Linked DNA regions of Homo sapiens: all the other regions are linked to region 1. Evidence: promoter capture Hi-C in 16 types of primary human blood cells and fetal thymus (Javierre and others, 2016). All regions are on one chromosome and are shown on one strand. Each heading gives the region's core, a stretch centred on a gene start or on the middle of the fragment in contact. The rest is flanking DNA. Distances are from core to core; before and after follow the strand shown. Region 1 holds the start of PTPN4 (protein tyrosine phosphatase non-receptor type 4). Region 2 has its middle 7.6 kb from the start of TMEM185B. Region 3 has its middle 21 kb from the start of TMEM185B. Region 4 overlaps EPB41L5 (erythrocyte membrane protein band 4.1 like 5). Region 5 overlaps EPB41L5 (erythrocyte membrane protein band 4.1 like 5). Region 6 overlaps EPB41L5 (erythrocyte membrane protein band 4.1 like 5). Region 7 overlaps EPB41L5 (erythrocyte membrane protein band 4.1 like 5).

Evidence for each region. Contacts are between HindIII fragments. The CHiCAGO score rates a contact against its expected background, and 5 or more counts as called.
Region 2: a fragment that was not itself captured here is called in contact with the fragment with the promoter of PTPN4 in region 1 in 16 of 17 cell types (fetal thymus, non-activated CD4 T cells, total CD8 T cells and 13 more); the score reaches 35.5 in fetal thymus.
Region 3: a fragment that was not itself captured here is called in contact with the fragment with the promoter of PTPN4 in region 1 in 10 of 17 cell types (total CD4 T cells, total B cells, monocytes and 7 more); the score reaches 9.3 in total CD4 T cells.
Region 4: a contact is called between a fragment that was not itself captured here and the fragment with the promoter of PTPN4 in region 1, in 13 of 17 cell types (total CD4 T cells, total CD8 T cells, naive CD8 T cells and 10 more). The highest score is 13.6, in total CD4 T cells.
Region 5: a contact is called between a fragment that was not itself captured here and the fragment with the promoter of PTPN4 in region 1, in 14 of 17 cell types (endothelial precursors, total CD8 T cells, total CD4 T cells and 11 more). The highest score is 15.2, in endothelial precursors.
Region 6: a fragment that was not itself captured here is called in contact with the fragment with the promoter of PTPN4 in region 1 in 15 of 17 cell types (non-activated CD4 T cells, total CD8 T cells, naive CD4 T cells and 12 more); the score reaches 18.3 in non-activated CD4 T cells.
Region 7: a fragment that was not itself captured here is called in contact with the fragment with the promoter of PTPN4 in region 1 in 10 of 17 cell types (total CD4 T cells, total CD8 T cells, naive CD4 T cells and 7 more); the score reaches 7.8 in total CD4 T cells.

The regions. Positions count from the first base shown.
Region 1 is chr2:119,758,256-119,761,693 of GRCh38, forward strand. It overlaps PTPN4 (protein tyrosine phosphatase non-receptor type 4), which reads left to right and starts at 1,667. Exons shown (of 27, transcript NM_002830.4): 1 at 1,667-2,129. It overlaps LOC101927764 (a long non-coding RNA gene), which reads right to left and starts at 1,459. Exons shown (of 4, transcript XR_007087215.1): 1 at 1,377-1,459. RefSeq lists silencers at 1,209-1,318, 1,869-2,168 and enhancers at 1,358-1,652, 1,369-1,628, 1,899-2,523. The HindIII fragment of the contact is 4,728 bases long and covers 1-2,438 here.
Region 2 is chr2:120,229,242-120,232,679 of GRCh38, forward strand. No RefSeq gene overlaps it. Among named protein-coding and RNA genes, the nearest start is that of TMEM185B, 7.6 kb to the left of the region's middle. RefSeq lists enhancers at 1,917-1,966, 2,699-2,908, 3,149-3,438. The HindIII fragment of the contact is 1,026 bases long and covers 1,250-2,275 here.
Region 3 is chr2:120,200,632-120,204,069 of GRCh38, forward strand. No RefSeq gene overlaps it. Among named protein-coding and RNA genes, the nearest start is that of TMEM185B, 21 kb to the right of the region's middle. The HindIII fragment of the contact is 543 bases long and covers 1,482-2,024 here.
Region 4 is chr2:120,148,276-120,151,713 of GRCh38, forward strand. The region is part of intron 20 of EPB41L5 (erythrocyte membrane protein band 4.1 like 5); the gene reads left to right. Among named protein-coding and RNA genes, the nearest start is that of TMEM185B, 73 kb to the right of the region's middle. The HindIII fragment of the contact is 4,020 bases long and covers 1-3,438 here.
Region 5 is chr2:120,130,925-120,134,362 of GRCh38, forward strand. It overlaps EPB41L5 (erythrocyte membrane protein band 4.1 like 5), which reads left to right. Exons shown (of 25, transcript NM_020909.4): 18 at 694-791. Among named protein-coding and RNA genes, the nearest start is that of TMEM185B, 91 kb to the right of the region's middle. The HindIII fragment of the contact is 597 bases long and covers 1,265-1,861 here.
Region 6 is chr2:120,110,762-120,114,199 of GRCh38, forward strand. All of the region lies in intron 16 of EPB41L5 (erythrocyte membrane protein band 4.1 like 5), which reads left to right. Among named protein-coding and RNA genes, the nearest start is that of EPB41L5, 99 kb to the left of the region's middle. The HindIII fragment of the contact is 8,828 bases long and covers 1-3,438 here.
Region 7 is chr2:120,093,169-120,096,606 of GRCh38, forward strand. EPB41L5 (erythrocyte membrane protein band 4.1 like 5) reads left to right here. Exons shown (of 25, transcript NM_020909.4): 14 at 81-108. Among named protein-coding and RNA genes, the nearest start is that of EPB41L5, 82 kb to the left of the region's middle. The HindIII fragment of the contact is 1,001 bases long and covers 1,375-2,375 here.

The sequences.
Region 1 (3,438 bases), core at 417-2,916:
CTAAAGCTCTCTCTCTCTTTTTTTTAAGGACAATAATTGCTTCTTCTCTTTCCAGGGTTGCAGGCAGGTAGATTTAAGGTGAACTCAGATTTTTCAAGGAATAATGGTGAGTATTGGTAACTTCAAAGGGTCCATCCTGGTGACTTGCAGGGGAAGTTCCACTCAGGAACTTTTGTGTCTTGCTTAACACCAGACACAAGACTACATGTAAGCCATGTGGCTCACATGTGTAATCCCAGCTACTCCGAAGGTTAAGGTAAGATGATCTCTTGAGCCCAGGAGTTGGAGACCAGCCTGACAACATAGCGAGACCTTGCCTCTAAACAAAAATTACATATTGTATGATTCTATTTATATGAAACATTCAATTTCTGGTGGAAGTCTCATATGATCTTTGGTTGGAGGATGACTGGATGTTGACAGATGACAATGAGGTGAAGAGCATTTTAGCAGAGGGAATGGCATGATCAAAGACAAAATGGAGAGTCAGAGGCAGGAATGCATATTTAGGGAGGAATGAATGAGCACTGGCTACAACAGAGATCTGGGAAGAAAAGCAAGTGAAGGAAGTAAAGCTGGAAACATGGATTGACAAGTTGCCTTTTTCAAATGGAAAAACTAACAGGTGTGAGGGAGAAGAGAGTCAATAGAAATTTCTGTCTTTTCCAGATTTGTTCACATTCCCCTGATTTGTAGTCATTTTGTCGGCTTGGGAAAGTGGTTTTTGAAAGATCGTCTTTATAAAGGTAGGCTCTGATAGGATGCTCAAGCTAAGAGCAAGGAAGGACAAAGAAGGCGCCTGGCGACAGAAAAGGGCACTAACAAAAATTGGGCAAAAAGGAAGTGTGGCGGTCCCCAAATCCCTTCTTCCTCCATTTCAGCTGAGATCATTCGCCAGTAGGCAACTGTGGTATTACCAATAAGTTTGTATCACCAATAAAATATTATAATGCACCTGGCTAAAAACCCTGGCGTGATAACACCAAATTCATGTTATTAGAAGGAATTAAATTTTAAAAAGCACACCGTTCCAGGCACACAGAAGGAGCCCCCGAACGTTTGTTTTATAAACGCAGGTTGGTTGCTGAGGCTTTGTTTTGGAGCCTACGTTTAGGAGAGGAAATGATTCAAAACTGCCCCCCAAAACCTATATCCTCCAGGAGCACTGAGGTTGGGGCGACCTGCTGCCAACTGGTCTGGTTTTCCCTTTTAACACACGCTTCTTGCCCACTATCCGGTCCCTGCGGTCAGTGGGTGCAGCAGGGGTCGCAGTCCAAACAACCAATCGCGACGCGGCTGCGGGGCGGGGGCCACAGCGCTCCGCCTCCCCCCTCCAATCCGCCCTCCCAATCCTCCTAGGCCGCTCTCTCTCGCACCTGCGTGTCCCTCTGCGCTCCGACTGGTGCGACTTCTCCCTGCGCTAGCGAGGCAGGGTTTTGGCCTCGCCTCTCGCGAGATCGCCTCCTGTTGCTGCCGCCGCCGCTCCTGGCCACTGACTGGCGGCGCCTGCGCAGCCGCCATGTTCGGTTGCTATGCTGCGGCCTAGGAGAGGGGGTGTGCTTGAGGGAGGAGGAAGAGATAGAGGAGGAGGAGGGGGAGGAAGAGGAGGTGGAGAAGGAGGGGGGTGACTGAGCTCCTCTTGCACTCTCACACACAAACGCTGCCCAGGATTACCCGCCAGCTCACGCCGCGCAGTGCGCTTTTCCGCTCCTCGCGCCCCACCACCAACATTGTTCTCTCAGGACTCCTGGGTCCCAGGGGCCGGAATTGGGCCTGAGCGGGAGAGGAAAGAGACTTGGCTTTGGCCGCGGGGTCGGAGGATTGGGGCCAGGCCCCCTCCCCCACGCACTTTTGGGGGTGTGGATTATCTCATCCCTGCAGGGAGGTAGGAGAGGTCGCCGGCTGCCCGCCTCCCTGCCACCTCCCCAGCGGCGCCGGCCCGCGGCTGCCCAGCAGCATGAGGTGGTGCTGGCGGCTCCGGGTCGTGGCGCGACCGCTGCGGCGGCGGCTGCTCGGGGGGCGCTGAGGTAGCCCCCCGGAGCGGCACGGAGGACGCGCTTCTCCTCTGCGCGCCGGGGCCTCGAGGCTTTTTTTCTCCAGCCGAGAGGACGCGGCTGTGATATACGAAGGTAAGAGGTTCTCCGGTCCCCGCCGGCCTCTCGGCCCTGCACGTTGAACGGGAGGCTCTTACCTGCATGTGTGGCTCCTGGGAGGTGAGCCAGGTGGGGCAAGCCGGAGGTACGAGGATGATTTGAAAGGAAGGAAAAAAGGACAAAAACAAACAAACAAACAAACAAAAAAACGCTTTCTTTCCTTTCTTCCTGGGACCTCTGCTTTTGCGGGGGTTATAGTTGGAATCTCTGTTATGGGTCAGCGAAGGGCCAAGGGATGGAATAGGTGCGGAGATGGAATGTTCCCAGTACCTAAACTCTAGGTAAAGCTTTGGAATCTTGAGTTTTCCATTGCTGGTAGAATTCCTTTTTTTTTTTTTTTTTTTTTTGGCTCATATGAGCGCTTCTTGCACGCTGCATGAGCCAACTATTCCTACCATTGAAGTTTTAAGCCTGTTATGATTCTACCAGTATATACCTGTATTTGGGAATCTGTAGTTGAGCCAAAAAAAAAAAAAAAAAAAAAGTTGAGATGTGGGTAAACAGTGATGCATTTCGCAGGGTTTCCATAAAATGGAACAGCTTACAGTTGCACAGGTGATGTGTGGATGTTTCTGCAAAACTTAGGGTGGAAGATTTTATGTCTGGGCTTGCATCATGTAGTGACATCAGTATGTACAAGGACGATTTGTAGGATTTTTCAAAACGCCTGTTCTAGGATAACTTGTTATGCATCTGCAATATGCCAGCTGCTTTTCGAATAAGAGGTTTCAGTAATACTAAGTTTCTGTGTCCAGATCTTGGGCCCAGTTGAAACAGTACAGCTGATTGGTCACATTTAAAACATATTTATGGAGAAAGATAAAAGGCCAATGTGTCCGACTTGCAAAAGACAATTAGAGTAGAAAGAAGACTGGAACAGTAAAAGCCAGGGCATTTTTAAATCTTGGTTTTCTGAACTTTAACGTGCCAGAGGAAAAAAATTTTTTTTCAATTTTAAGGGGGAAGGAGATGGCCTTAAAATAAAGGATTGTTCAGAGCCTAAACTGTGCTTAATGGAATAGAGCTAGGTATATCATCTAAATCTTGAATTTGACTAATATAAATTCAGCTTTCTTTTAAAGAAAAAACTCGTAAGCAGAAGTTTGTGTATTCTACAGAACCTCTTCACTAGCTCGTAAGTGTGATCATTTTGTGGACATCACTGTTTTTTTGTTAGAATAAATTTATGCTCCAATTACCACAAAAGCAATTTTTATGTCTCTTCGCATTTTTTATGGTACACATATCTTTGTTACATTTTGCATTGAAACACGCACGGTCCCAT
Region 2 (3,438 bases), core at 513-3,012, 470 kb after region 1:
TACGGCTTCTTTGCATCCAGATTGTTTTTAAGGGTAGATTCTCAGACACAGACATGCCATGGTGAAGGAATGAATACAGTAGTCCCCCCTTATCTGAGGTTTATCTTTCCAAGTTTTCATTTACCTGCAGTACACCGAGGTTTGAAAATATTAAATGGAAAATTCCAGAAATAACTCCTAAATTTTAAATGACACTCTGTTCTGAGTAGCGTGACAAAATCTTGCTCCATCTAGCCTGGGACGTGACCCCTCTCTTTGTCCAGCATCTTCACACCGGGCGTGCTCCCTGGGCGATCACATCAGCTGCCGCCAGATCACTGTCCCTCTGTTCAGGTCACCCGTGTTTGACTTAATAATGGCTCCAAAGCACAAGAGTACTGTGCCTAATTTACAAATTAAACTCTATCGTAGGTGTGTATGCACAGGGAAATACATAGTGTGTATAGGGGTTTGGTACTATCTGCGGCTTTGGGCATCTACTGGGGGTCTTGGAACATATCCCCTATGGATAAGGGGGGACAACTTCATTCTAAAGACCCTTGACACATAAAGCCTAGTGTGTCTTTTTTTTTCCTTTTTTTTTTTTTTTTTTTTTTTAGATGGAGTCACTCTGTCACCCAGGCTGGAGTGCAGTGGACTGATCTCGGCTCACTGCAATCTCCACTTCCTGAGTTCAAGCAATTCTCCTGCCTCAGCCTCCTGAGTAGCTGGGTGGTACAGGTGCACCACTATGCCTAGCTAATTTTTGTATTTTTAGTAGAGATGGGGTTTCACCATCTTAGCCAGGTTGGTCTCAAACTCCTGACCTCAGGTCATCTGTCAGCCTTGGCCTCCCAAAGTGCTGGGATTCCAGGCGTGAGCCACTGTGCCCAGCCTTTTATTCTGTTTTCTGTGTTATCTTTGAGGAAATGGAGTCAGTGCCACCCCGAGTTGTGGTGTGAGTCTGCTTGTATTGATAGCAGCTGGCAGAGCTTATTTAGAAAACTCCACAGGGTTGAAGAATTAAAGAGGCTGAAATCAAAGGTAGACTCAAGTATAGGGCTGTATAATATTAAAAGTCAACTAAAAACAGGGCTAGTGTTGACATGTTTGTGAGTGTGCAAATGCAGAAGTCAGGGTTTTCCGCGTCAGATCACAGCCTTCAAATGTTATGAACAACACAGTGAGCATTGGGATCATTTAATTTGAGGCATTCACATATAATTAAATATAATTAATTCAAACTAATATTTTGTGGAGGTGAGTGGGAAGCTTCCTGAATTATGGAATTAGGCAATCCAGGTATCAATTGTACTTAAGTTGACATTACTAAAATATTTTCAAAAGTTTTCATGTACAATTTAAGTTTTTTCCCCAGTCTTATTTGCACTCTTAATTTACTCAGCAAAACATTTTTTTCTTGGACAAAGGTCATTCCCAGCCCGGCTCTCACCTGGCTTTGTCATAAATTCCAAGAGAGTGTGATGTGGACAAATGATGTGCTTCCTGCGTCAGAAACAGACGTTTGTAAAATTGTAATCCTAATTTCACTCTGGGTTGCCTTTCATTCTTCCATTGCCAGGTGCAAAGCAGCAAAAAAGTAAAATAAAATAAATGCCTCTGCACGCCACTGAGAGCCAGGCCCTGGAGTTACCCCATGAACAGTGTGGGGCTCCTGACTTAAAGGGGCATCCAGCAGTATAGCAGGCAGCACGGCCTGATGACTCGGGCCACAGGAGCATGGCCCTCCCCTGTCAAAGCTGACTTCTCGTTTCTCAGGACAAAATCCATACGCTTTACCGTGCCCTTCAAGGCCCTGGCTGACCGGCCGTGGCCCATCTCCCTGGCCTCACCTCACTGCCCATGGGGCTCCTATGGCCACCTCAGCTTCTTTCTGCTCCTCAGACTCCCAGACTGGAGCCGTTGCTGCCTCAGGGTGTTGCTTTATGTGTTTTCACAGATGCCTTTAGGGGAGATAGACCTAAAAGAGTCTGGGCAACATGCACAGCCTCCAAGCAGTTCACTCATCACTCAGCTACTATGGCCAGACTGCCTGCTAGTGCCCGGTAGGTGCCAGGCCCTGGGGAAGGAAGCAATGCCCTGTGGCCCTTGTTCCCAAGGACCGAGCACTTTTCCACGCAGTTAAGGTGCACAAACACAAAACACCGAATAACGCTGAAAGAGCCCAAGAGAGGACCAGAGGTCACTGGGCTGAATATGATGAAAAGTCAACTAAAAACCAGAAAAAAAAAAAAAAAAACATTGGAAATAAGCTATAGGGCAGCGATCAGGGAGAAGCTTGTGCTCTGAGCTGCAACAGAACCCCAAGGAGACCACTATCAAGAGGGTGCCCTGGTGTAGTTAAGCATGGGCCAAAGAAGGGACCACCTGGGTTCAAACTTGGCCTTGTCATTTCAGCAGCTGTGTGTCCTTGACCAAATGGCTCAGCCTCTCTGAGTCTAGGTTTTCTCATCTGTACAATGGGGATAATAATATCTACTTCACAGGATAGAGGTGAGATAATAGAGATACAGGCCTGGCACATTCAGTAGATGCCCGCATGGGCACGTACTCCCCTCCCACGCCCCACCCTGTGCTGGTGTAGAAGAGAGTGCCCAGGAAGATCTGTGCTCGAGTCAGCTGGGCATAACTAAGGACACCTTAAATTGTGTAACCAGGTGACAGGCACCTCATTCATTCTCCACCCTGGGGCTGGTTCTGCTTTATAAATTAAGGGGGCCAGGGTGGCCCAGAGGTCCCCAGATGCAGGTCCAAATGCAGCATTGCTGGCTACATACAGGCAGATTCTGGGGCCTCACCCCGAGAATCTTGGTGATTCAGACTCACCAAGTCAGAATCCTTGCGGGTGAGGCTCGGAAACCATTTTTGTAAGTCTTCCCAGGTGATTCCAAGTACAGCCAGGTCTTCGCACCCACACAGCCAGACGGCCCCTGAAAAGCTTTCTCAGCCTTTGCAGTCTGTTTCTGGCCGCATCAAATGTGCTGAGCAGTGTGGGTTTGGTTCAGTGTTCATCCCCCACTTTCATCAGAGACAGGGGGCTTCTCTTGGTCCTCACTCATGGGAGGAAGCCGCAAGCGGAGACGACTAAGTGGAGAAATAAATCTCTAGCAGCTGCCTGCTGCCCTGCTCTGGAGGTTGTCTGCGAGGAGGAGAAACGGCTAACTTCCAAGAACTGGGGTGCTTTCTCCCCACCTATCAGCTGAATCGAAACTGAAAATATGCCTCCGAGGCTGGAGATCCGTGACAGGCTTGAAACCTTGACAAGCCAACCCTTCTCATGTGGCTGCTTTCCACCTAAGAAAGAAAATGAAACTCCTCGGAGTTCCTGCTGGTTTTAGATTTTTCTCTGGTACAAACAAAAATTATTTACTGTCACTGAGGTTCTTTCCAGATTACCCCAAACAGCCATAACTTTCCCAGCTTTATCTGGGGGGTATT
Region 3 (3,438 bases), core at 503-3,002, 440 kb after region 1:
GGAAGGGAATGGGAAGTTGTTGTTTGATGGGAACCCAGTTTCTGTGTGGGATGATGAAAGGGTTTAGAAGTGGATAGTGCTGATAGTCGCACAACAATGTGAATAGAATCAATGCCACAGAATCATACGCTTAAAATGCTTAAAATGGCAAATTTCATAATTATATATATACACACACACACACATACACACATATACATATATACATGAGTGTGTATATATAAAACTACTCGGCCAGGCACGGTGGCTCATGCCTGTAATCCCAGCACTTTGGGAGGCTGAGGCGGTTGGATCACCTGAGGTCAGGAGTTCGAGACCAGCCTGGCCAACAGGGTGAAACCCCGTCTCTACTAAAAATACAAAAAATTAGCTGGGTGTGGTGGTGCTCACCTGTATTTCCAGCTACACGGGAGGCTGAGGCAGAAGAATTGCTTGAACCCCAGAGGCAGAGGTTGCAATGAGCCAAGATCATGCCATTGCACTCCAGTCTGGATGACAGAATGAGACTCCATCTCAAAAAAAAAAAAAAAAATACACACACACAAGCACGCTTACAATGGTATGTGACCCAGTTGAGGCCAGTGAGATGGGAGAAACTGGCTAAGGGCTTCGGGGGAACATTTCCTCATTCCTAGTGAGAGCTGATGGATGAGACGTGGTCTCTCCTGTTTCTCTGGACCTGGTCTCTGGAACTGCTGCAGCCATCTTGTGAACAGACTGAGAATTAAGCCAACAGGGGGCCACAGACAGATAGATGTGGGTACCTGAGGATGTCATGGAGCTACTGGACAGCCTAGGAAACATGGTGAGACCTGTGTCTACTAAAAATCAAAAGCATTAGCTGGGCATGGTGGCATGCACCTGTGGTCCCAGCTACTTGGGATACTGAGGTAGGGGAATTGCTTCAGCCTAGGAGGTTGAGGCTGCAGTGAGCCATGATCACATTGCTGCACTCCAGCCTGAGCGACAGAGCAAGATCCTATGAAAAACAAAAACAAAAAAATGCTACTGGACCAGCGGACTGCTATGAAGTCAGTCCTATCTGGGCTTTACAGTTTCATGAGATGATTTTCTTATTTAAAAAAAAAGGAAGTGTTGGAGGCAATTAATAAAGAGCTCGGCCGGGGGCGGTAGCTCACGCCTGTAATCCCAGCACTTTGGGAGGCCAAGGTGGGCGGATCACGAGGTCAAGAGATCGAGACCATCCTGGCCAACATGGTGAAACCCTGTGTCTACTAAAAATATAAATAAAACTAGCCAGGCGTGGTGGCACATGCCTGTAGTCTTAGCTACATGGGAGGCTGAGACATGGTCTCTCCTGTTGGGGAGAGGCTGAGGCAGGAGAATCGCTTGAACTCAGGAGGCGGAGGTTGCAGTGAGCTGAGATCACGCCACTGCACTCCAGTCTGGTGACAGAGCGAAACTCCGACTCAAAAAAATAAATAAAAATAAAGAACTCAAAAAGTCCAACTCTTTCCTTAAGCTTAAAATAGATAATTTAGAAAAAAACCTGAAAGATGAGAAATCTAAATGTTTAGACAAATTGGTCTGATGTCTGACCTTACCAGATCAAGAAGATGAATGAAAACCTCCTATTTCAAGTAGCTGCAACCAAAGCAACCTTCAAAATCCATCAAAAGAAAGAGCAAGTGCACTTTGAGAGGCTGAGATGGGCAGACCACCTGAGGTCAGGAGTTCAAGACCAGCCTGGCCAACAGGGTGAAACCCCGTCTCCACTAAAAATACAAAAATTAGCTGGGCGTGGTGGTGCATCCCTGTAGTCCCAGCTACTCGGGAGGCTGAGGCAGGAGAATTGCTTGAACCCAGGAGGCAGAGGTTGCCATGAGCCGAGGTCACACCACTGCACTCTAGCCTGGGCAACAGAGTAAGACTCTGTCTCAAAAAAAAAAAAAAAAAGCAAGTGTAGACAACATTAGAAGATGCTTTGGAGGCCAAGTTCTTTCTTCAGGGAAGCCTGGCACTGCCCTCTGGCAAGGCCAAAGAATGGAGAGGAAGAATGAGCAAGCTTACGCCCCAGAAGGAATGGCTAGGAGGTAGGAGCTTGGGTTTAGATGTATCGAAGGAGAGATGACCTAGAAAATGAACCAAAAGCAGTTTTAAAAAAATATGTGTAGGCTGGGCGCAGTGGCTCATGCCTGTAATCCCAGCACTTTGGGAGGCCAAGGCGGGCGGATCATGAGGTCAGGAGATTGAGACCATCCTGGCTAACACAGTGAAACCCCATCTCTACAAAAAATACAAACAAAATTAGCCGAGCGTGGTGGTGGGCGCCTGTAGTCCCAGCTACTCAGGAGACTGAGGCAGGAGAATGGCGTGAACCCAGGAGGTGGAGCTTGCAGTGAGCCGAGATCGCACCACTGCACTTCCAGCCTGGGCAACAGAGCGAGACTCCGTCAAAAAAAAAAAAAAGTGTTGATGTGGCTGAGTTATATACTTATTTGAAAACTCTTAGGGGAAAAAAAGAAACTCAAGGAATACTAAATTAACTGAAGCAGCTAAAATAATGGATTGCTTCAAGACCACGTGAAAAAAAATCTCCAAACCGAGAAATCCATACTGCAGTCAGAAAAGCACAGTTAGAAGGGGAGGGGCAGAAACAATTCTGGCAGAAACTTCAAGTCCTTTCTGAACTCGTGAAAAAGAAATGAATTTTCACCCAATACTCAGTCTTTCCAAAGCAGCAAGCAGTCCCTGCATTCCCAGAGTGACTTTGGGGGAAGTCAGAAATTGCACAAGTGATTATGGTAAAGACTGAAGAGTGTTCCAGAAAGAGGACCTATAGGGCACCCCGCGGATGAAGTGCAATTATGTAACTTCCTAGCGTGCACGTCATGGATCATTACAGGGACCCGGGCACCTGGACAGGGCTGAGTGGCTCTGGGGCACCTTGTTTCTCTAGGCTGCAGGAAGCCTCCAGGAGTGCCGCTGCTCAGCCCTCCACTGCAGGCACTGACCCGCCTCCCCTGGCTGAAGTGGGAAAGACTGAGGTTAGCCAAGGGTCTCTGTCCTGAACTTGCCTCAGTGACCAGGAAGTCAGTCCAGCCCCTCCAAGTCACAGGCAGCAGCAGGACTTCCTGCCTGGGCTTGTGTGGTGGGGAACACACAGCCTTTCCCTCCCTTTCCAGGTCCCAGCCATCACTTTCCCATGCTTTGCTTGTGCTTTTGAACTGAGCCCATCCTGTCACATAAAAACACATCAGGACGGCCTGTGAGCCCAAAGAGGGTACAGTAAGTCCCCCTGGGGTAGCACTGGGGTGAGGAGGGGCTGCTGCAGTTGGTCCAGGTCCCCACACCACTGCACTGAGCCAAGGTTCCATGATTCCAGCCTCCTGGTACTTCTGGGATGAGAGGGCCACTGGGAAACGAAGGTGCTCGGCCTGCGAGGGTGACAGTTTGTGTCTGCTCTAGAGAGGGTGG
Region 4 (3,438 bases), core at 586-3,085, 390 kb after region 1:
ATGTTCTAGAAACACCATAGGTCTAGAAACTCCTTACCCTCACTCCTTACCCTTTCCAGACCTTAGGTAAGGTAGAAACCTTCATACTCACTATAATACTCATCCTAGTTCTCATATATACTCATCCTCATTCTACCTTACCTAAGGTCTTCATACTCACTAGGATGAGTATTATAGTGAGTATGAAGGTTTCTACCTTACCTAAAGTCTGCAAACACTTTACCCATTAGCAGTCACTCCATATTCTGCTTCTTGCCCAGCACCTGGCAACCACTAATCTACTTTGTCTCTGTGGATTTACCTACTCTGGACAGTTTATGTCAATGGAATTATACGTGTCCTTTTGTGTCTGGCTTCTTACATTCAACGTAATATTTTCCAGATTTGTCCATATTGTAGCATATGTTGGTACTTTGTCCCTCCTTATGGCTAAATAATATTTCATTATATAGATATACAACATTTATTTATCCATATATCAGTTGATGGACATTTGAATTGTTTCCACTCTTTAGCTATTGTGAACAAAGCTAGACGTGAATATTTGCATACAAATTTTTTTTTGTAAATATACTTTCAGTTCTCCTTAGTATATACCTAGGAGTAACACCATTTCTCCTCAGTCATATGGTAACTCTATATTTAACTTTCTTAAGAACTGCCAAATGTCTTCCAAAATGGCCGTAACATTTTTCATTCTTACCAGCAATGTATGAGGATTCCAATTTCTCCGTGTCATTGACAGTGCTTATTATTCTCCTTGTTTATTATACTCATCCTAGTGAGTATAAAGTGTGTCTCATCTCATTGTGGTTTGATTTGCATTTACCTAAGGACTAATGATGTTGAACATCCTTTCGTGTATGTCTATTTGGAGAAATGTCTATTCAGATCATTTATTTTTGTAGTAACAGCTTCATTGATAAATTTGATTCAAATACCACACAATTCATCCATTTAAAGTGTGCAATTCAATAGTTTTTGGTACATTTTTGTACATTTAGTACATTCTGTATTTAGTACATACAACCACCATCAGTAACAAATTTCAGAATATTTTCGTCACCTCAAAAAGAAATCCCCTGCTCTTTAACTGTAACCCCATCTACCCTGCACTGCCTTTCCCCTAACCCTGAGGAAGTACTTTTCTACTTTCTGTCTCTATAGATTTACCTATCTGGACATTTCATATAAATGATACTCTGTAATATGAGGTCTTTTGTGTCTGGCTTCTTTCACTTAGCATAATGTTTCCAGGGTCATCCATACTGTACTATTATGTATCAGGACTTTATTTCCTTTTATGGCTGTATAATATTTCATTGTATGGATATACCACAGTTTGTTTATTCATCTGTTGATAGACATTTAGATTGTTTCCACCTTTTGACTGTTAGGAATATTGCAGCTATGAATAGTCATGTACAATTTTGTGTTTGAACACCTGTTTTTCAGTTACACATCTAGAGTAGAATTCCGGAGTCATACGGTAATTCTGCTTTTAACCTTTTAAGGAACTGCCAAACTGTTTTCTACAACCACTGCACCATTTTCTATTTCTCCCAGTAATGAGTGAGGGTTTTTATTTCTTTACACTCTCATGGTATTTCACTGTACTTTTTTTTTTTTTTTTTTTTGAGACAGGGTCTTGCTCTGTCACCCAGGTTGGAGTGCAGTGGCACAAGCACAACTCATTGCAGCCTCAAACTTAGGCTCAAACGATCCTCCCACCTGAGCTTCCTTAGTAGCAGGGACTACAGGCACATGCCACCATGCTCGGCTAAGTTTTTTTTCATTTCTGGGAGAGACAAGGTGTCACTGTGTTGCCCAGGCTGGTCTTCGAACTCCTGAGCTCAAGCGAGCCTCCCATCCCAGCCTTCCAAAGTGCTGAAATTACAGGTGGGAGCCACCACACCCAGCCTCAGTGTACTTTTGATTTGCATTTCTCTAATGATTAAGAATGTTGGGGATTTTTTCATGTGTTTGTTGGCCATTCGTGTAACTTCTTTGGATAAATGTCTATTCAAGTCCTTTGCTCATTTTTTATTTTATTTTCTTATTTTTTAGAGACATTATTGCTCAATCACCCAGGCTGGAATGCAGTGGCACAATCATAGCTCACTGTAACCTTGAACTCCTGGGCTTAAGTGATCCTCCTGCCTCAGCCCTCTGAGTAGCTAGGATTACAGGCACACACCACCCTGCCCAGCTAATTTAAAAAAAAAAAGTTTATTTTATTTTATTTTTTTAGAGATGGGGTCTCACTAAGTTGCTCAGACTGGTCTCAAGCTCCTAGCCTCAGGCAATCCTCTTACCTTGGCCCTAAAAAGTGTTGGGATTACAGGTGTGACCTACTGTGCCTGCCCACCCCATTTATTTTTATTTCTTTTTTTTTTCTAATCCCATGACAGATTACCCATTTTTAAATTGGGTTTACTTTATTGTTGAATTGTAGGAGTCCTTGATTGAATATCAATTCTTAATACTAGACTCTTACCGAATACATGATTTGAAAATATTTTTTCCCATTCTGTGGATTGTCTTTTCACTTTCTTAGTGATCAGCCTTTTGATGCATAAAAATTCTTTGTTTTGACGAAGTCTAATTTATCTACTTTTCTTAGGTTGTCTGTGCTTTTAGTGTTTTATATAAGAAACCATTGTGAAATTCAAGATCATAATGATTAACAGTTGCATAGCTTTGGCTAGAACTTCCAGTATAGGAAACATATTTAGATCTTCTGTCTATTTTCAGTTAATTTTTTCAGCTGGGCATGGTGGCTTATGCCTGTAATCCAGGCTGATGTGGGAGTATTGCTTGAGCCCAGGAGTTCGAGACCACCCTGGCTAACACAGTGAAACCCTGTCTCTACTCAAAATACAAAAAATTAGCCGGGTGCCTGTAGTCCCAGCTACTCGGGAGGCTAAGGCAGGAGAATGGCGTGAACCTGGGAGGCGGAGCTTGCAGTGAGCCGAGATCACGCCACTGCACTCCAGCCTGGGCGACGGAGCGAGACTCCATCTCAAAAAATAATAATAATAATAATAATGCAGAAAAAAACCTATTAGATCTAATAAACTCAGCACAGTTGCAGAATACAAGATAAATACACAAAAATCAGTTGTATTTCTATACACTAGCAGTGAACAGTTTGAAAACAAAATTAACAACTATGTTACAACAGCATAAAAGATTTAAAAACCTAGGAAACAATTTAACCAAGGAGGCAAAAGACTTGTACACTGAAAACTACAAAACACCACTGACCTCATGATCCACCCACCTCGGCCTCCCAAAGTGCTGGGATTACAGGCAGGAGCCACTGCGTCTGGCCCTTTTTTTTTTTTTTTTTTTTTTAAAGACGGAGTCTTGCTCTTGTCACCCAGGCTGGAATGCAATGGCGCGATTTTGGTTCACTGCAGCCTCTGCCTCCTGGGT
Region 5 (3,438 bases), core at 313-2,812, 370 kb after region 1:
CAGTGTAAAATTTTATGCACACATCAAATTAATCTCTGCAAAATAAGATTATTTCAGGACAGTTAATTTTAAAAGTCTTCATTTAAAGATGAATTGTGTTTAATGTATTATGTTTTCAGTGGTTAGAGGACTTTGTAATGTATTTTGCCACTAGGAAGAACATTATGAAGACAAAATGCTTGTCTTGCGTCACACCTGATGGTACCAATATATAATATGTTGAATCAGTGAACGAATAAATATATATTCTTCATTAGTTTGTTCCACATAAATTTAGTTTTAGGCAGTAGTCAGGGCCAACGAACAAAGATGGCAAAGTGTTGAGGTTAGACATGAGCCTGGGTTGTGGTTATGAAAGAAAAGGATCATGTCACAAGTGTTCTGTGCCTTTTGGGTCTCTTGGCTAGGTAAACCTTCTTAACCACACATGCTAGGGAGATTTCACATCTACTTGCTTTTTAGGAGTGCTGCAGATATAGGGTGGTGTTTCTACTTAGGATTAACTCTTATTCAAATTAATGGACAGATAGCTGGTTATGGAAAGAAAATATATTTATTTTGTGTTTATCTGGATTATTACTTTTAGTTGATGATAACTGATGTTGAGAAGACAAAACAAAACCATACCCTCACACAGCTAGCTGTGACAGCCTGGCAGACTGGGGTTATTTTGCCTTTTTTTTTTCTTTTCAGCATTAAAAGACACCTCAGAGAAGCTCAAACAGCTTGAGATGGAGAACAGTCCTTTGCTGTCCCCTCGATCCAACATCGATGTTAACATAAACAGCCAGGTATTCAGATTTCCCCTGTGTATACCTGTTACACATCTCCAGAGCTCCCAGAAATATTTTCTTTCCAAAGACAGTACTTTCTTTTTTCTTTAGCTGGGAAATCTGTCTGTGCTGAGTTCTTATAAACCTGTTTTCTCATTTTAAAGGGTGAAATATGTAGATGTTTAGGAGGGAAGGGGGAAACTTGCACAGCAAAGTGAATTGTAAGGTGATTTCATGATTTAAAAAAAAAAACACAGTCAAGATGAGTGTTAAACCTTTTATTTTGATTGACCCAGTCTAGTTGGAAGACTTGCTGAAGCCTTTTGAAATTACAGAAGGATTTGTTTTAAAGAGAGCTGCTCTGTGGTATAAACAAGAAAGAGAATAGAATTTCAGATGCTTTAACTTCATCTATCATTCCTTTCTCTCCCCTGTCCCCTTTGAATTTTTTTTGTTGTAGGGTGGGGGATACATACCAATTACACCAATCAAGCTTCAATTTATAGTTTGGCTATGATTTTCTTATTTCTATGTTAAGTAACTTATAGAAAGAGCTAAAATAAATTGAATGAGATGGAAATTTTATAATTAATCATATCAGCTACCAGATGGCCCCACTAAATGGAAGAGTTGATTTTAGGTAATGACCTGGAAATGGCCTTTTTTTTCCCTCTACATACAGACAACTGATAACATGACCAAGATGAATTTTGTTTTTGTTTTAAAGAGGAAAGGAGAACGGCTGACTCACGGTGTTCTTCCATTCTTGGATAACTAACTGGAATTCCTTTAGAGACCAGCAGAGAGTAGAAAGTGATTGTCTTCTGTCTCGCACTCGCACTGTTATGATTCAAACTGTCTTTCGGGATCCAAGCCTTTTTTTCCCCTTTCTTTCTAATACATTTTTTATTAGAAATAGCTGTTAGAAGGTGATTCAATTTCAGAAAGGCTTTCCATTTTCTTGACTTTTCAGTATTCTATCCCACTTGTCTGTTTGCTTTTACAGTGTCAGTTTTTTAAATATATCTCTGTAAAGTAGGGGAATGCAGGGCCAGAGACAGAAGGATAAATGGAAAACTTTAGATAAAAGCTTTAGATGATTAATAACTAATGGAAATTTAGTGGAGGACTGGAATGACCCTAAAGAATGAAGCCTGGTAACACTTGGGGGTAGGGAGGAGTGGGGGGCGGGGATTGTTGGCTGTGCTCAGAGTTCATGGAAATCTATTGAACAGCTACTTGTTTCTTTGTAAAATGTCCTGCTTATCTCACTATGATATAACTGATCCTCTGAGGCAGAGAGTCTGCTGCATTAGTTTTGAAGCCTTGAAAAGATGAGGAGGAGTGTGGGTTCAGGATAGGAGAGTAAAGGAGCACTTTAGGTGAAGGACAGAGTGCCATCAAAGAACTTTTAGGGGATCATATAGCTAGGAAGAATAACAATATTTAGTGAGGGTTTACTCTATGCCAGACAAGAATAGAAGGAAGGAGGGGATGGAGCAAGATGGCCAAATATAACCCTCCAGTGATCATCCCCCTTGCAGGAACACCAAATTAAATAGCTCTCCATACAAGAAAGCACCTTCATAAGAACCGGAAATCAGGTGAACCATCATAGTACCTGGTTTTAACATTATACCAAGGAAGGAGGCACTGAAGAGGGTAGGAAAGACAGTCTTGAATGGCTGATGCCACCCCTCCCCTATGGAGGAGTGTGGTGCTGAGAGAGAATCTGTGCTTGGGAGAGGGAGAGCACAGTGACTATGGCACTTTGTATTGGAACTCAGTGTTTGTTGGTCTGTCTGTCGGAATGGAAAGCAATGCAGGGCACAATTTCGCTGGTGCCCACAGAGGCTGCATTTAGAACAGCCCTAGCCAGAGAAGAATCTTCCATCCTAGCAATTGGAACCTGAGTTCCAGCTAGCCCACCGCTGTGGGCTAAAGTGCTGTAAGCTCCTAAATAAATTTGAAAGATAGTCTAGGCCACAAGGACTACAATTCCTGGGCACATCCTGGTACTGTGCTGGGCTCAGAGCCAGTGGACCTGGGGTACACATGACCTAGAGAGATACTAGCTGGAGGAGCCAAAGGAGTGCTTGCATCACCCTCTCCCAGTCCCAGGCAGTGCAGCTTACAGCTCTGGGAGAGACTTCTTCCACTTGAGGAAAGGTGAGGGAAGAGTAAAGAAGACTTTGTCTTGTAGCTTGGATACCAGTGTAGCCACAGTAAAACAAAGCACCAAGCAGAGTCCTAAAGCCTCCATTTCAGGCCCCACCTCCCAATGACATTTCTAGACATACCATGGGCCGGAAGGGAACCTGCTGTCTTGAGGGAAAGTATCCAGTCCTGGCAGGATCTGTCACCTGCTGACAAAAGAATCCTTGGGTCAGTGGTTTCCAGGCAGTACTTGTCATAGGCCTTGGGCAAGACCTGGTACCATGCTGGCTTCAGGTGTGACCCAGGGCATTTTCAGCTGTGGTGGCCATGGGGAGAGACACCTTCTGCTTGAGGAAAGGAGAGGGAAGAATAAAAAGAACTTTGTCTTGCAACTTGGGTAACAGCTCAGTCACAGTAAAATAAAGTACTGAGTAGATTCCTACAGTTCCCAACTCCAGGCCCTAGCTCCTTAGACGGCATTTCTGAACTAGCCCTGAGCCAGAAGAGA
Region 6 (3,438 bases), core at 532-3,031, 350 kb after region 1:
GTAGCTGGGACTACAGGAGTGCGCCACCATGCCCAGCTAATTTTTGTATTTTTTAGTAGAAACGGGGCTTCACCATGTTGGCCAGGCTGGTCTCAAACCCCTGGCCTCAAATGATCCTGATCTGCCCGCCTTGGCCTCCCAAAGTGCTGGGATTACAGGTGTGAGCCACCGCTCCTGGCCCCCTGTTGTTAACACTCCACATACATTCCATAACTTGTACCAATGTTAATTTCTTAGATTTTGTTTGTTTCACAAAACCTAAGAAATTAACATTGGTACAATACCACAAACTAAACTGGACCTTACTCAGGTTTCACTAGTCTTTCCACAAATTTTCCAGGATCTGACCCGAGATCCCATGTTACATTTAGTCCCCTTCAGCCTGTGACAGCCATTCCATGTTTTTCATGGTTGGCCAGATGCCTTGTGGAATATTTCTTGATTTGGGTTTGTGTGGTATTTTCACATGATTAGTTTGAGGCCACGGATTTGGGAGAAAATACTGCAGAAGTGATATTGGGCATCCCGAATTTAATATGTTCAAAATTGGACAAATATATCTCCTGACCCCTGCAGTTTTTCCCATCTTTGTGGTTTTTGTAGCTTCGTAAGTGGCAGTTCTCTTTTTCGTGTTGCTAAGCGTGTCTTGGGCTCTACTTTAGACCTGCTGAATCAGAAACACTGGAAGTGAGGTCCAGCAATCTGTTTCACATGCCCTCCTGGAGATTCTGATGCATACTGAAGTTTGAGAAGCACTGACTTAGACCAGAGCACCTTATAGTCATCTTGACTCCTCTTTGTCTCACACTCCAGATTTCTTTCAGAATCAGTAAATTCTGTCAGTTCTGTCTTCAAAATGTATCCAGGTCTACTGCTTGTTACCATCTTTACTGCTCCCATCCTGTTTCCATTTGTTGTCAGCCCTGCCCTCTTACCTGGCCTCCTTGCCATTGCCCTTGCTCCTCTACTGTCTGGTACTCCTTTCAGCAGCTGTAGTGATAACAGCAGATCATGTCATTTCTCTGCTTACACCTGCCAGCGTCCTTGTCTCGGAGTAAAACCTCAGATCCTCACATTGATAGAAACATGCTTTTTCCTCCCTTTATCTTCTATCAATCCTGACCTTGCTTACATCCAAAGACTCATCTTCTTATACTTGCTCAAACATACCAAGCATGTTCTCTCAGGATCTTTGTACTTTTACTGCTTCCTGAGTATTCCTCCCTTCAATCTCTTATGGTTCATTCCGGCACCATCAGGTTTCTTATTGGAGAAGCCTTTCCTGACCACTCTGAAATAATCATGTTCCCCGCCCCCTGCCCAGTCTTCTTTTTATTTCCTGTCTGCCTTACCCTGCTTTATTTTTTCTCACTCCTTTCATCTTAGTATGTGTTTGTTTGTCCTCTCTATACAGATAGTCCCTTATGATGATTCTTAGGATTTTTCAACTTTATGATGGGTTTATGAGAGTATTAAGTGCATTTTTGACTTACGATGGGTTTCTCAGGACATAACCCTATTGGGTAAGTCAGAGTGTCCGTTTTTCAACAGAATGTACGCTCCGTTAAGGGAGAGCATTTATTTTGTTTCCTTCTGTATCCTCAGACACTCCATATATATTATTTGATTGAATCAATGAATACCAAGCATGTCTTGGCACATCTGGTGATGCAGAAATAGTCAAAATACTGTTCTTGGCTTCAAGAAATTTATACTCAAACTGTGGAGATAAACAGTTTTACAAATAACTGATAAAGTGCTAAATCCAGCAAGCAAGAAGAGTAGAAGTGGTTGAAGTTAAGAAGGCTTCTTGGCATTTGCATCAGGTTTCCAGTGAAACAGAAAGGAGCTTTGAATGGATAAATCATTACGGGCCCAGGGACCTATAGGAAAAGAAAATTCTAAAGTAGCTAAGTGCAAGGTGTAGTCCAGGAATGATGAATCAGGTTTGAGTAAAGAGTATAGAATTTATGGGAAGGTATCGTGATAATAATAGCTAATACTTGAGTGCTTCTGTGCCAGACATTGTTCTGGAGGTACAGCAGTAAGTATTCACTCTAGCAAAGCATCCTCATTTAATCCTTATGAGGATCTATAAGGTATTCAGGCTAGTGAAGAAATGAAGGCACAGAACAATGAGGCTGGGCTTCAAACTCAAGACAGCTTAGTCCTAGAACCCAGCCTTGGCTACTGTACTGCCTCCATAACTCTGTAAAGGTTGTTGGGGTCCAGATTGTAGAGAGTAAAAAGGAATGTAATAATTCTATTTTAGGGGGCAGTGTGAAGAATGAATTCCAATTGGTGGAAGACTGGATTGTATTATAAAAATATGCTGCCTCCATTCTATGTAATTGTTAAAGAATCAGGTCAGTTTTCATGTACTTTTACTAGAGGATATCAGTGACACTGTTGAGTTTAAAACTTAAGTGTCTGAGGTTTGTTCCCATTTTTGTGAAAGCAACCAAATCATGTATATATTAGTAAGTGCACGCACACATGCAAGAACCTAACTAGATAAACAGGCTTTCAGAAAATGGGAGTGAGGGTAACATTGCTTTTCTTAGCTATCATTCACAACTTTAACAATAAATTACTCCAAATTATGGAAGGAGACAAGGAAAACTGCTTCAGTTTACACAGGCAAGTGTCCATGAAAAGTAAGGAAATAGGTAGAAGAAAGAATGTCTTTACATATTTCTTTATACATTCTTGAGAGATGGATATGAACTAAGACATTACCAAAGCCACAGATTAATAATATTATGTGTAACTACGTTTAAAAAAATTTAAGTGTATAATTCAGTGGGTTTAGTTTATTCACAAAGGTGTACAACCATCACCACTATTTAATTCCGTAACATTTTTATCCCCAAAAGAAACCTCTTTCCTATTAGCAGTTACTATCAATTATTCCTTCCTACTAGCCCCTGGCAAACACTAATTTACTTTGTGTTTCTATAGATTTGCCCATTCTGGAAATTTCCTAAAAGTAGAATCATACAGTGGGTGTTCTTTTGTGTCTGACTTTCACTTGGTATGGTGTTTTCAAGGTCATCTGTTTTAGCATGTATTAGTACTTGATTCCTTTTAATGGCTTAATAATATTCCCTTGTATGATGCCCAGTGTTTTATTTATCCATTGTCAGTTGATAGATATTTGAATTTCTGCTTTTTGTGAATGATGCTATGAACATTGAGGTGTAGGTTTTGTATGAACATGTGTTCTCAATTGTCATGGTTATATCCATAGGAGTGAAATTATTGGGTCATATAGTAACTCTATTTTTAACATGTTGAGGAACTGCCAAATTGTTTTTCAGAGTGGCCACACCATGTGGGTTCCAGTTTTTCCACATCTTCACCAACACTTACTATTGCCTGTCTTTTTTATTATAGGCATCCTAGTTGTGAAGTAGTGTATTGTGGAGCTGGATGATG
Region 7 (3,438 bases), core at 625-3,124, 340 kb after region 1:
TTAAAGTTTTGCTTTGAATAGTGCAGCAGTTTATCATGTAAGATGAAACTAATGAGGTGTTATCTTTTTTCTTCTGTTAGCATGTGCTACAAAACCTGAAGAACTTAGGTAAGTAATGTTTTGCAACTTAGGAATTGGTATAGAATTTGGGATTTATGTAGTTGCTATCATTAAACAAATATTTAAGACCTATCAAAATGTCAAGTTGTCCGTAAAGCACCAGGGATATGTCAGGGAATAAATGAACATGTAATGCCAGATAAAAGTGACATGATGAAAAATTAAAGCAGTTTAAGGAAGTAAAGAATGGGGTCGAGGCAGATGAGCCATTCATAAAGAGAATGACATACCTTTGTTATTGGCAAGTGGCTGAGGATCTTAAGATAAATTATGATCCTTATACATAAGAAGCACAAAGGAGAAAGGTTGATTTGCAAATAGGCAATTTTCTTCCTGGGATAAATCCCACTTGGTTGTGGTGTATAGACCTTCTTTATGTTATATGTTGCTGGATTTCATTAGCCTGGTATGTTTTTGGATTTGTGTGTCTATTCATCAGAAATATTGGCCTGTAGTTTTCTTATAATGTCATTGTCTGGTTTTTTATGTAGGGTGGGTAATACTGGCTTTACAAAATAAGTTTGTATATGTTCCCTCCTCATCTATTTCTTGGGAAGAATTTGTAAATAATGGGTATTAATTATTTAAATGTATGGTAGAATTCACCATTAAAGCCATCTTTCTCTTTATGTGAATCTTAAAAATTCTTATGAGAGATCTGTTCAGATTTTCTTTTCTTCTCTTTTTTTTTGTTGGGGTGGGGGTAGGGGACGTGCAGGGCCTAGCTCTTTCACCCAGGCTGCAGTACAGCAGCTTGAGCATGGCTTGGCTCACTGCAGCCTCTCCCTCCTAGGCTCAAGTGATCATCCCACCTCTGCCTCCCAAGTAGCTGGGACTACAGGCACTTGCCATCATGCATGGCTAATTTTTAAATTTTTTGTAGAGATGGGGCCTCCCTGTATTGCCCAGGCTGGTCTCAAACTCCTGGGCTCAAGCAATCCTCCTGCCTCTGCCTCCCGTCTTGCTGGGATTACAGGCGTGAGCCACAGCACCAGGCCCTCCCGGATTCTCTTTTTCTTCTTGATTCAGTTTGGGAGTTTGTATCTTTCTAGAGTTTTATCTCTTTTATCTGTGGTATCTAGTTTGTGGGGATACAGTTTGTATTCCCTTTTCCTTTGTATTTCTAAAAGTTCCATAGTAATATCTCCTCCTTCCTTTCTGATTTTTAGTATTTTGAGTTTTTTTTTTTCTTGCAAAAAAAAAAACTAGTCTAGCAAAAGGTTTGTCAATTTTGTTGACGTTTTCAAATAGAAAAGCTTTTGGTTTCATTGATTTTTCTGTTTTTCTGTTTCATTAATTTTTGCTCTATATTATTTTTTCCTTCCACTTTAGGTTTAGTTTGCTGTTTTTCTAGTATTTAAGGTGGAAGATTAGGTTATCTGAGATCTTTATTTTTTAACATTTAAAGATATTAAATTTCCTTTCAAGCACTGCTTTAATTCAATAAGTTTTGCTATGTTGTGTTCTTGTTTTTTGGTTACCTCAATTTATTTTCTAACTTGTGATTTCTTCTTTGACTTGTTTGATTACTTAGGAGTGTGTTGCTAAATTTCCTTGTATTTGTGAATGTCAAAATTTTATTTTTTTCTAATTTTATTCCATAATGGGTAGAGGACATACTTTGTATGATTTCAATCCCTTTAAACTTATTGAGACTTTTTTTATGGCCCCTCCATATGAGTCACCCAGGAAAATAGTTTATGTGTACTTAAGAAGAGTATATATTTTGCTGTTTCTGAGTGGAGTGTTTCATAGATGTCTGTTAGTTTATTGTGTTCAGATCTTCTGTTTCATTGTTCATCTTTTGCCTAGTTTTAATCCGTTATTGAGAGTGGAGTATTGTAGTCTACAACTATTGTCTATTTCTTCCTTCAGTTCTTTCTGTTTTTGTTTCATGTATGTTGTGGATTTGGGGTAGGTATGTATGTGTTGTTAATTGTTATATTATCCTGATGGACTGTTCCTTTTTATCTCTAGTAACTTTTGTTTTAAAGTTGATTTTATTTGATGTAAATATTGCCAGTCCAGTTTTCATATGGTTGCTTTTCCATGATATAACCTTTTCATCAAGTCTGGAAGTTTTTACCCATTATTTCTCTAGATATTCTTTATGCTGTCTTTCTCTTCTCCTTCTGGAATTCTCATTAACATGTAAGTTGTTACACTTGATGGTGTCCTACAGGTCTCTGAGTCTGTTCGCTTCTCTTTATACTTTTTTTTTTTTAGACTACATAATCTCACTTGACCTGTCCTCAAGCTTACTGATTTTTTTTTTTAAACCACTTAAATGTTTGTTTCACTGGCGAGAGTATCTACTTTTGTTTTCAAATTACCATTCTGAAGGTCTTGCTTCTGATGGCTCCATTAATTAAATTTAATTAATTAATTAATTTTTTTTGAGACGGAGTCTTGCTCTATCGCTCAGGTTGGAGTGCAGTGGCATGATCTTGGCTCACTGCAACCTCCGCCTCCCAGGTTCAAGCGATTCTCCTGCCTCAGCCTCCCAAGTAGCTGGGATTACAGGCACGCACCACCATGCCCACCTAATTTTTTGGATTTTTAGTAGAGACAGGATTTCACCATGTTGGCCAGGCTGGTTTCGAACTCTTGACCTCATGTGATCCGCCTGTCTCGGCCTCCCAAAGTGCTAGGATTACAGGTGTGAACCACCACGCCCAGCCGGCTCCATTAATTTTAATATTACTTATTACAATGAGGCTATATCTGTGGTCTCATATAATGCTTAATAATTGGTATGTATTAGAGTCTCCTAGAATGCCTGTTAAAGATAAGATTCAGACCATACCCACAAATCTAATTTATTTTTGAATTTGTCTGTACTCTTATATGGCAGTTGTCTCACTAGACTTTTTTCAAAAGAAGTTGGTTATTTTTGGATATTGAGTATCATCAGCCTCACCTTGAAATGTCCATTTTTTTTTCACTTTGAAAGCTGTTAAAGCCAGTCCGTGATTAGTGATTGACTATAATAGCACTCCGCTTTCTGAACAAGGACTCCCCTCAAGTTTCTTTAGCTGTCAATAGGCTGTTGAAAATAAATAAATAAATATAACAGGGAGGAAGTGAAATTTCTGTGAAACTCTCTCCGTGAGATTTTTATTAGGTAAAAAAACAACATTTTGTGCCTTTTCTGTGCTGTATACTTTTATTTTTCTTGGATTTATTTATAAGCTATGTTTTTCAGAAAAGTAGAGTAATGGCTGGGAGCAGTGGCTCATGCCTGTAATCCTAACACTTTGGGAGGCCAAGGCAGGCAGATCACCTGAGGTCAGGAGTTTGAGACCAGCCAGACCAACG